2 separate regions of the Homo sapiens genome follow, and region 2 is linked to region 1. The links are contacts of gene promoters, found by promoter capture Hi-C in human tissues and cell types (Jung and others, 2019). All regions are on one chromosome and are shown on one strand. The core of a region is centred on a gene start or on the middle of the fragment in contact, and the rest is flanking DNA. Distances in the headings are between cores, read along the strand shown.

The links. The method cuts DNA at HindIII sites, captures the fragments that hold promoters and counts their contacts. A contact is called where the count stands out against the background at its distance.
Region 2: a fragment that was not itself captured here is called in contact with the fragment with the promoter of TACC2 in region 1 in 1 of the 25 tissues and cell types used here (dorsolateral prefrontal cortex).

What each region holds. Positions count from the first base shown.
Region 1 is chr10:121,985,598-121,991,375 of GRCh38, forward strand. TACC2 (transforming acidic coiled-coil containing protein 2) reads left to right here and starts at 3,566. Exons shown (of 23, transcript NM_206862.4): 1 at 3,566-3,891. The HindIII fragment of the contact is 30,860 bases long and covers 1-5,778 here.
Region 2 is chr10:120,862,627-120,868,404 of GRCh38, forward strand. WDR11 (WD repeat domain 11) reads left to right here. Exons shown (of 29, transcript NM_018117.12): 5 at 109-295; 6 at 2,421-2,586; 7 at 3,004-3,118; 8 at 3,943-4,138; 9 at 4,440-4,543. Among named protein-coding and RNA genes, the nearest start is that of WDR11, 14 kb to the left of the region's middle. The HindIII fragment of the contact is 3,529 bases long and covers 332-3,860 here.

The DNA of each region.
Region 1 (5,778 bases), core at 2,316-4,815:
GTCTGCCCACTTCAATTTGGATGAGCTGTTATTCCAGTCTTGCTACACAGTTGTCACCATGGGGTTTCCCTTTACTGCCATCCTTGGTTAAACTCATTGCTTTCTGGATTCCATGTTTAAAACTTTTGTTTCGTTTATGCCCTGGTTTTGCTGAGGTATTTTCTTAGAAGAGATGTAAAGCAAGCTAGTTTTATGAGTCTAAAAAATGTCTTTATTTTTCTTTTCCATTTAGTTGAAGATTTGACTGGATATAGAATTTTGAGCTGAAACTAATTTTTCATCAGGAATTTAAAAGCATTGTTCCATTGTCTGCCTGAAATGGATTCTTTCTTTTTTTTTTTTTTGAGATGGAGTCTCACTTTTGTCACCCAGGCTCTAGTGCAATAGTGTGATCTCGGCTCACTGCAACTTCCGCCTCCCAGGTTCAAGCAATTCTCCTGCCTCAGCTTCCCGAGTAGCTGGGATTACAGGTACGGGTCGCCATGCCTGGCTAAGTTTTGTATTTTTAGTAGAGATGGGGTTTCATCATGTTGGCCAGGCTGGTCTCAAACTCCTGACCTCAGGTGATCTGCCCGCCGCGGCCTCCCAAAGTGCTGGGATTCCAGGCATGAACCATCATGCCCAGCCAAGATTCTGATCCAGCATTCACTCAACAAACATTCCAAGTATGTTCTAGGCACTAATGATACAGGTGCTCCCTGTAAATTCTTCATAAGTTAAAAGTATTGTAAGTTGAAAATGCATTTAACACACCTAACCTACTGAACATAGGGATATGGGAGTTAAGAAGAAATTACTTGGGCAGATAGTGAGGGTACGGAAGTCCTTGGTAAGGCTTTTATCCTTAATGAAAAGCAGCCCCAAATTGTTTTTTAACAAAGAGCAGCCTATAAAGTTGAGCTGCAGATATAAACAAGCAAGCTGGGAGCTTGCACAGGTGAATGCCGGCAGGAGCTAGGGACTATATGTGTTCAAGATGGTGGCTCTGTCTTCCTTTCTCTTTGTCGACCACCATACAATGTATTAAAGAGCAGTCAAGATAGTGCTGATCAACTGGAGAGTCCATTTACATAATAAGATTAGGGTGGGGCAGCCAGTCTTCCTCGCGGGCTATGTAAATGTCATACCTGATGGTACCAATCTATGAGGTCTGCGTAAATCAGACACCACCTTTTCCAGCCTGCCTATAAAATCTGCTGCGGTCCGCCGCCTCCCGTTTTGGACTTCTCTCTCTCTCCTTTCTTCTATTAAGTTTTCTACTTCTTAACCCACCCACGTGTGTCTGTGTCCTGAATTCTTTCTCATTGTGAGACAAGGAACCCCAGCATAAATACTCTAGACAATGTAGCTGTTAAAGTAGCATAGCCTAGCCTACCTAAAACGTGCTGAGAACACTTGCATTAGCCTACAGTTGGGCAAAATCACCTAACACAAAGCCTAGTTTGTGACAAAGTGTTGAATCTCATAGAATTTATTGAATACTGTACTGAATTTGAAAAACAGAATAGTTGTTTGAATACTCAAAGTACAGTTTCTGCTGAATGCATTCTCTCTTTTGAGCCATCTTATGATAAATCTACATCAAATTATTGTTATGTTAGGGAAGGAAACTGCCTTTGCAGAACTGACAGTAACAGAAATGTGACATGGTTGACTTCATCTTGCTTCTGACCTCCAAGCTGTCCTTGGTTATTCCTGGGCATAGGCCAAGCTAACTTTGGGAGGAATTCAATTTATAGTTTAATTTGAAAGTAAAGATTATAATAGTCCCTCCCTAAAACTAACCCCCTCCTTTCTCAGGGACCAAAATCGCCTTTGTAAGACTAATGAAAGGCCACAGGAATAGGATAATGGGAGAAGGCAGAACTCTGCTAAAATGTAGGCATAGTTTCTATAGTCCCTTAATGCCCAGGGGTCATGTGGCCAGAGTTCACAAGATCTGTGACTTTCCCAATTGCTCCTGTAAGTAACATCACTATTGTAGAACTTAAGATTGGGGTGTTTGTTTGTTTGTTTGTTTTTGTATTTTTAGTAGAGACGGGGTTTCACCATCTTGGCCAGGCTGGTCTCGAACTCCTGATCTTGTGATCCACCCACCTGGGCCTCCCAAAGTGCTGGGATTACAGGCGTGAGCCACCGCGCCCAGCCAAGATTGAGTTTTTTAAGATGTTTTTCAGACTGACCTCACTCAGACTCATGACTCATGACTCAACAGGTCCTGGGGCCCCACCCAGAGGCAGACTCAGTGCATGAGGACTGCTTTCCACACCGGTATGATTTCATCCCCAACCAATCAGCGGCACTATCCCCCTACCCCCTGACAACCAAATTGTCCATAAAAACCCTTGTTCCGAGCCTACAGGGAGACTGATCTGAGGGATAACTCCAGTTCTCCCACGTGGGCTCAGCCTCGCGGCAGTTAAACTCTTTCTCTATTGCAATGCCATGGTCTCAGTGAATTGATTTTTGTCTGTGCAGTGGGGAAGAAGAACTTGTTGGGTGGCTCCAGAACCATCTGTATAATGATGAATAAGACAAAGTCCCTACTCTCATGGAGGAGACAGATAATAAAGAAAAGAAAAAAAAAGGATTTGGTCATTGTAAGTGCTATGAAGAATTTAAATAGGCTAAAGGGATAGGTGGAGAATAGAAGTTGCATTTTTTCTTTCCCTCCAGATAGAGTCTCACTCTGTCACCCAGGCTGGAGTGCAGTGGTGCGATCTTGGCTCACTGCAACCTCCACCTCTGGGTTCAGGCAGTTCTCCTGCCTTAGCCTCCTAAATAGCTGGGATAGCAGGCACCTGCCACCACGCCCGGCTAATTTTTGTCTTTTTAGTAGAGAGGGGGTTTTACCATGTTCGCCAGGCTGGTCTTGAACTCCTAACCTCAAGTAATCCACCCACCTCGGCCTCCCAAAGTGCTGGGATCACAGGCATGAGTCACTGTGCCCGACCTGAAAGTTGCTATTTTAGGTGTGATGAGCAGCACAACATCTTTCCTGAGGAGGTGACATTTGAGATGTGACTTGAATTGTGAGGAGTAATGTGTCATGCAAAAATACAGGGAAGTCATATTGTAGTCAAAGGCAATAGCAAAAAAAAGTCTTTGGGGTTAAAATAAGTCTGACACATTCAAGAAAGTTCAGAAAGGCATACATACCTGTGTTAGAGTAGGTAGCTAGGGGAACATGAGAAGGGCAGCAGAGGGCATTCCACCCCCACCCCCAACCAGGAATGTCAGGCGACCATCATGTGATGGTCAGGTGGTTGTTACACTGTTTCTCTAAAATCATCATTGGTTGCAGCCAGCACCAGGGAAAGGCCGGCTCCCAATAGATAGAAAACACCTGAAGCTAGTGTCAGCCGCTTCCTGATAAGATCTCAGGAGTTGGGCAAGTGGGCTCAAGCATGGGCCCTAAGGGGCAAAATGTCAGAGTTTAACTAATATATGACCTTCCTCTAGGAATTCTCGACTGGCAAGGGAAAAATGCCTCAAATGAGCACGCGCACAACTTCAGTAAACACACTGTGAGTGCGGCCACTCCCAAGTGCTGGCAGACCACTGCATAAGTGGACAGCCTGCTCCAAGGGAAGGATCAGGAGAGAAGAAACGCAAATCCCAGAACCGTGCCAACATATAAAACCCCACATTAAGGGTTGTACAGTGCACTGGGATTTCTCAAGTCACCCGCTTGGTCCTCTTCCAAGTATACTTTACTTCCTTTCATTCCTCTCTAAAACTTTTTTAAAAACTTTCACTCCTGCTCTAAAAGTTATCTTGGTTTCTTACTCTACCTTATGCCCCTTGGGCGAATTTTTTCCTCTGAGGAGGGAAGAATAGAGTTGCTGCTGCAGACACATCAGATTCCCTACTGGTAACAGCTGGAGTGCGGTAAGTAAGGAGGAGAGGGCTGGAAAATGAAGTTGGCTCTGATTCCCATTACTTGAAAATACAGGGTAGGAAAACCCTATCTTCTTAGGTTCAGTGGCTGGGGAGCACCATCACTCAAGGTGAGAACTGCCTGGCTGAGCCCAGCCAACTCACAGAACTGTATGAGGTATTTTCATCTACTGTGCTAGGCACCTAGTGAGAGCCCTTTTGCGTCTTTCAACTTTGGAAAAAATTATGATTTATTTTTATTTTTTAAATTAATTTTATTTTTTTTTTTTATGTTTTTAGAGATAGGTTCTTACTCTGTCATCCAAGCCAGAGTGCGGTGGCATGATCATGGCTCACTGTAGCCCAGAACTACTGGGCTCAAGTGATTCTCCTGCCTCAGCTTCCCAAGCAGCTGGTACCACAAGCACATGCCAGCATGTGCAGCATGGGAAATATTTTTATGTTACCACCTCGACACTTTCTTCCTTCTACTTTTCTGTGTCATGTCTGCATCTCCCGTCACTTAGATAGGGACCTCACAGTTTGATTCTCCAGACCTTTAATATTTTTTCATATTTTAAATATTTCTTTAATTCTGTTTTTTGAGATATTTTATTAAATTTACCTTCAACCTTCTGTGGATTTTTTTTTTTAGACAGGGTCTTGCTCTACTGCCCAGGCTGGAGTGCAGTGGCATAATGATGGTTCATTGCAGCCTCGACCTCCCGGGCTAACGCAATCCTCCCACCAGGAGCAATCCTCTCAAGTAGTTGGAACTACAGGTGCATGCCACTAAATTCAGCTAATATTTTTTATTTTTTATAGAGATGGGGGTCTCGCCGTGTTGGCCAGGCTGGTCTCAAACCCCTAGGCTCAAGTGATCCTCCTGCCTCAGCCTCCCAAAGTGCTGGGATTATAGGTATGAGCCACCAAACACTGCCAGAATTTTAAATATCAGGATATAGGAAAGGTTTTGCTTTCGTTTTCAATTTTGTTTTTGTCTTATGGCACGGGGCCAGGCAGGGCAAAGGGTAGATTCCATTGACACTTATTTTTAATTTTCTGCCCAAGTACGTTCCCACCATTGTTCCTGGTGTTTCAGACCCTCTCCAGGGTCTGCAGAGTCTTGTTTGGCTGGAGCCCCTTCTACTCTAGTCTAATGCCCCTCTGCCCTAATTCCTCAACTACCAGGCCGTCACTGCTTTCCATTACCCACAACCATGGAGAAAGCTCTCATCAGCTAATGTGCCTTCTCCAGTTTGCCACATTATTACATTATTGTCTGGACATACCTGTTTTTTTGTTGTTGTTGTTTGTTTGTTTGTTTTTGAGACAGGGACTCGCTGTGTTACCCAGGCTGGAGTGTAGTGTTGCCTTCTCGGCTCACTGCAACCTCTGCCTCCCAGGTTCACTCGATTCTCCTGCCTCAGCCCCCTGAGTAGCTGGGATTACAGGCACCTGCCACCACGCCCAGCTAATTTTTGTATTTTTAGTAGAGATGATTTTGCCATATTGGCCAGGCTGGTTTCAAACTCCTGACCTCAAGTGATCCACCTGTCTCAGCCTCCCAAAGTACTGGAATTACAGGTATGAGCCACTACGCCTCATCTGGACCTACTTGTTTTTAAAAATGCCTTTGTTATCATTTTAATGAAGTCTCTTAAAGGAAAGGAGTTGCATTTGTGTGTTCTGTCTTCTTCAGTAAAGAGAGGGCTTTTATTTATTTATTTTATGTATGGAGATAAATGAACCTTAAACATTGTATATTTTTATTTTTATAAATCCACCTGTTTACTGTCATTTCAAACATTACTTTAAATTTATTTTCCCCTCAGAGCTTTTAAATAATCAGGAGCTCTAAGCATTGCCTGGGAAATGTTTTGTTTTCTTTGCGCTGTC
Region 2 (5,778 bases), core at 846-3,345, 1.1 Mb before region 1:
TATATATTATTAAAATTATCACTATATTGCTCTCAAAATTGTATTGGAATAAAACTGTATGCTAAACTTCATTAAACTTTAATCAGAGTTTTGCTTTTCTCAATATAGTGCTTACCAGCGAGGGTATTGTTTTCATCTCAGACTTCTCCCCATCCAAGCCTCCCTCAGGCCCTGGGAAAAAAGTTTACATATCCAGCCCACACTCTAGCCCAGCTCATAACAAGCTGGCCACAGCCACAGGTGCCAAGAAAGCTCTAAATAAAGTAAAAATTTTAATCACTCAAGAGAAACCTAGGTAAGTTACAAGTGTAAAATTAACATTCATCTACTTATCTGGTATGAAAGCATCATTTTTGGAGATGTACAAAGACTGATGTTTTTCTTCATCTCACTTTTTCTCATTTCTAATTTTGAATTTATTAGAGGAAAAAAATATTTATTTTTGTCCCCTGCCCTAAGAGGAGATTCAGCATTTAACATTGCCTTTGTTTCCACTAGCTGTGCTAAACTTCCCCACTGACTTTTATAGATTAAAATTTTTGAATTCTGATTTTTACTTGTGAAAATCGCAATGATCCTAAAGTTCAGGCAATTGAATGCATTAAAAATTTGGGCACAAAAGCTGGATACTCATTTTAAATACATTTTCCTGACTTAGGTGCTGTGCATTCTCATTCAGCAGTAAAATCGGAGTGTTTTTCTTATGCAGGTGAAGATGTCTCCCATCCTGGTTAAGAGCCAAGGCTCCGGGGGAAGCTTTAGCTATGAGACTGAGAAACTTCTTTAATCTTACTCAAATTTCTCTCTCCCAGTCTCTAAAATAAGGCTTTAAAGTATTTCATAGGGTTGTTTTAAAGATCAATAGATCCAATAATGTAAGTAAAGCATGTAATGTCATTGATACATAGTAATTTATTTAGAAGATGTCGGCTGTTATTAAGAAATTACAACTGAATAAAAGTTTATTTTAAGTAATTTGATGTATTCAAAATAGGTTTCTTTCTTTTTCCTATAGCAATAATCTGTATATTATTGCTTTGGCAGGCTTTTTTGTTTGTTTTGGCATTCATTTTCAGATAGCCTTTATTTTTAATATGCCAAGATTACTCTCTCTAGGCTTGGTGAGTAACTACTTGAAAAATATGTGGTAAAAATATAAATTGCTCTACAAATACATTTTGCACTTGTGTGTAAGTATCACTTCTATATATTAAGCCATAGGCTGGTTAAGTTCACTAGTTAATTTATCTCTCACCCTGTGCCAAAATGACTTAAGATTACTTCTTAAGTATCTTAAGAGAACTTTCTATTTTTTATGTATTCCCTCTCATAAACAAGAAATTATTTGGCAGTCTGAATAGTTTTATAAGTTATGTTTTATATTTCTTAAGTTTTCTCTCATATGAATTATATGTATATCTTGAGTATTGGGGAAATACATTATTTCTTCAAGTAGAACCGCTCTGGGTGCTTTCACATCTATTAATTCCTGGACTCTTACTACAATTCTGGCAGTAGTAATATTCCCATTTTACAAATAAGGAAAACTGAGTCCCACACCAATTTAAATAAAGTTACTCAAGCTCACCCAACTAGGACATGGCAGTCGGGATTTTAATGCAATAAAAATTCCTCTTTCTAGTCTTGTGAACTAACTTTATTTTAAATTTCAAAGCCTTTTAATAAAATTATGTTTGTAAAATGAAATGTAAAATGAAAATAGTACATAATTGTATGTCTATTCCTATTGAAATATATTTAATATAGAAAAGGTCATTGAATGTATGCAACAATCACAAATTATTAAAATGATTTTTCAGACCCTAACAATCTCTTAAAATCCTTATAGTTTCACCTGTTTTATTTACACACAAGAAAATGCTGCAATATAAGTGAAACTTTGTTTCAAAAAAGATTTAAGACAGCTTAAAAGTGAATGAAGGCAGCCAAGGGGAAGTTACTTGCCCAAAGCCATACAGATAGTCCAGTAACTCCTGGTCCAGGGGCCCTAATTACCCTAAATGTTGATGTTTTTCATCCTGAGTCTTGATTTTAACAGTTTGCCTAGTACTTTTAATGACAAAGTAAAAGTAAAATAAAACTGTCTTATGCATGCCAGCTATTATTATATTATCATTTACCATGTCTTGTGTAATATTAATAACTTAATATTCTACTACTTAATATTTCAAAAACTTAGAAACACTGACATTTCTACCCATCCTATACAATATTATTAGCATTTGGATTTTGGTACATAGTAGAGATCTAAGTTTTGGATGCCAACCCATGTTGGTCACTTCAGGGAATAGTTGTACATTTTTATTGTCAATTTTTATGTGTAAAGTACAAAATTAAATCTTTTATTAGGTCTGATATAAATGAAGTCTTTGACCCAAGTGAATGTTTACTTTTTTCAGTGCTGAATTCATAACTCTCAATGATTGCCTTCAGTTGGCATACCTGCCTTCAAAAAGGAATCACATGTTGTTGCTCTATCCTCGAGAGATTTTAATCCTTGACCTTGAGGTGAATCAGACGGTGGGTGTGATTGCAATAGAACGCACAGGAGTTCCATTTTTACAGGTATCTACAATTCATAAATTATATTCCCCAAAATTATTAAGAATGTTATATTAAAAGAAGGCCATAATCTTGCATAAGTCTTGTCTTCAGTTCTCCACTTTCTCTTTTCAATTTATCAAAAGACTAGCAACACTATTTTAGATTGTTTTTTTTGTCTGCACTTTTGATTGGTTTGATTTACCCTAGAAATTGTGACTGATCCTGAGATATTTATTGAACTATTTAAGTCACATGGGTAAAGACAAATTATTTTAGGATTATAAATGGATATTTTAAATGTACATTTAGTTTTAAAGTTTGGGATTTGTCTATTTTTTTTTCTTTTGCCCATATTATCTAAATATGAGTTTGAGTTTCACAGTATATACTTTATTAATCTATTGTGTTTTAAAAAATAAATATATCATCTATTTAAAGGTAATACCCTGCTTTCAGCGTGATGGTTTATTTTGTCTACATGAAAATGGTTGTATAACTTTACGTGTTCGAAGATCTTATAATAACATTTTTACCACTTCAAATGAGGAACCAGGTGAGTTTCTGTCTCACAATAATGTTATATTTTTCTTCAAAATTATTTTATAAAGCTTGATGTGGCAAATACCAGCCAAGGTATATAGTTAATGATACTCCTTGCTTTGAGGAAGTTTAAAATATGGTTATAATAAGAGGCATAAAAAGTATAAGCCCAAGATTAATCTCTTGATGTTAAAACAGTGCACCTCCTGTATACATCAAAGAGAGTAAAATTTTGTGTTTCTTGATCATATCCATGAGCCAAGTAGATATTATTTTTTGGAATTTTTTTTTTTTTTCAGTACAAGTCCAACCTTGTGTGCCTTTATTATTATACCCCCTTGACTTGTTGGCTGTAAGAACTTCCATTGTAAAGTGACAGAGGTTATTAAGTCTCAGTTGTCAAGTCAGTCTTATCTTGGAGAATGGAAATAATGTTTTTGTGAAATTATATACTGTGTAAAGATCAAAGTGATTTTCACATCTTTTGGAAAGTACAGTTATTTTCAGGCTTATAGACTACTACAAATTATGATGGAAATTTATTCATTAATTATATATCACTGTTGATCCTTTTTCAAAGTATCGTCTTTATTTTAAAATATTGAAAAAAGATATCTTGATTATAGTTGTTATTTTGGAAATTAAACTTAGTACAGTCATTAAGTAAATTATATTTGGAAAAAATTTAGTAGTAATTGTAAAAAGTGAAGCCATGCTTGACATTGCATTCATGAAGGAGTGATGCCCAAATTTAGTTGAGGTTTTATTTAAATTGAAACAAACAGTAGTGGTATCGATATGGCTGCTTTCTGATATTTAAAACAATTTTATGTGAAGATCCAGATCCAGTTCAGGAGCTTACCTATGATTTACGAAGCCAGTGTGATGCAATCAGGGTGACAAAAACCGTCCGTCCCTTCAGTATGGTGTGCTGTCCTGTCAATGAGAATGCAGCCGCCCTCGTAGTGAGTGATGGCAGGGTCATGATATGGGAACTCAAGTCTGCAGTTTGTAATCGAAATTCACGGAACAGGTAAATGAATCAACAGGATCATGGTTTTGTTTTTTGTTTCCTGTTTCCTTTTATAAAAAATTTCCATAATCATAAAAATAGGAGGGCTGGTTTTCTATAAAAATATTTTTAAGGTAATAATTAAGGCTTTAGATTATTAGGGAATTATGTAAATCTGCTAGAGCTATTTCACCTATGGGTAAGATGAATGAATAATATAAAAATAGATAGAATGCCATAATCTGGACTTAATACTTTGAATTCCTAATACGTAATGCAGATTTTAAGTATGTAAAACCTTCTAATTATTATGTCTTTGCAGTAGTTCTGGTGTGTCACCTTTATATTCACCAGTGTCTTTCTGTGGAATTCCTGTAGGAGTGCTACAGAATAAACTCCCAGACCTTTCCTTAGATAACATGATTGGTAAGCTTTTTTCCCCTCTAACTCCATGTTAAGTATTCTTTCTGAAGGGCAAAATTAATAGAATCACTCACTTGTAATTATTTTAAAGTCAAAAAAGTTAATACTTGAGAAAACTAGAACATGGAATCATTCTTTCCTAAATAAATCAGAGGGGTTTAAAATACTTAGGTAGAAAAGTGCCTGAAGTAGCACGGGTTTGCATTATAGTTGTTAGAAATAGAAAACGTTCATTCGTGAGAGACTGATGTAAATGAAAGCAATGACATTAGGCATCTGGATTTTGGACCTAGAGCCGATGCTGAGCTATGCCATGCCAACTCAGGGCCTTGCTGTTTGCTGGTTCCTCAGCTTGGAATGAAGTACATGCTTCCTTTCTGTCTGCTACTCCTAATTCAAAATTCAACTCAGATGTTGTTTTCTTTAATCTCCCAAGTCTAATTTAAATGCTCTTCTTTTGTTTTTCCTAACAGTTATCAGCATATTTTAATTGTGGGTTTTTTTCTTCTGTTTCATCTCATCAATTGTAAGCATCACAAGGGTGGTACAGTGTTTGATTCTATTTTGTCTTTCCCAGCACTCAGCACAGTACCTTGTGCATGCCTGTTTTGTAGTAAATATTTACTGAAGGAATAAAGTAACTGAGCAGTATTAGAAAAGATTATTTTAACTTTTTGACATGAATTATTTTTATGTTGGGGATTCTTTCAAAAAATCATTTTTGGAGATAAAGTGTTCAAAGTTATTTAATTATGAGGCCAGTATGTATTAAAGGAAGAATGAGAGTTTGTGATTTCAAATTTTATGCTACTTGAAATTATAAGGCTTTGTAAATATGCCAAGCAATTTGGACATCTAATTTTTTTACAGTTGTGGCTATGGTTTATAAAGGATTTTCTGTTTTATTATTTATTCTACCATAATATAATTGAAAACGATATTATTTAGGAGGGTTTTTTTGTTGTTGTTGAAACGCTAAATAAGTGATGCACTAGAAAGAGCATTGGCCAGGCGCAGTGACTCACGCCTGTAATCCCAACACTTTTGGAGGCCGAGGCGGGAGGATCACTTGAGGTCAGGAGTTCGAGACCAGCCTGGCCAACATAGTGAAACCCTGTCTCTACTAAAAATATAAGAATTAGCCAGGTGCAGTGGCATGTGCTTGTGGTCCCAGCTACTTAGGGGGCTGAGGCAGGAGAATCGCTTGAACCTGGGAGGCGGTGGAGGTTGCAGTGAGC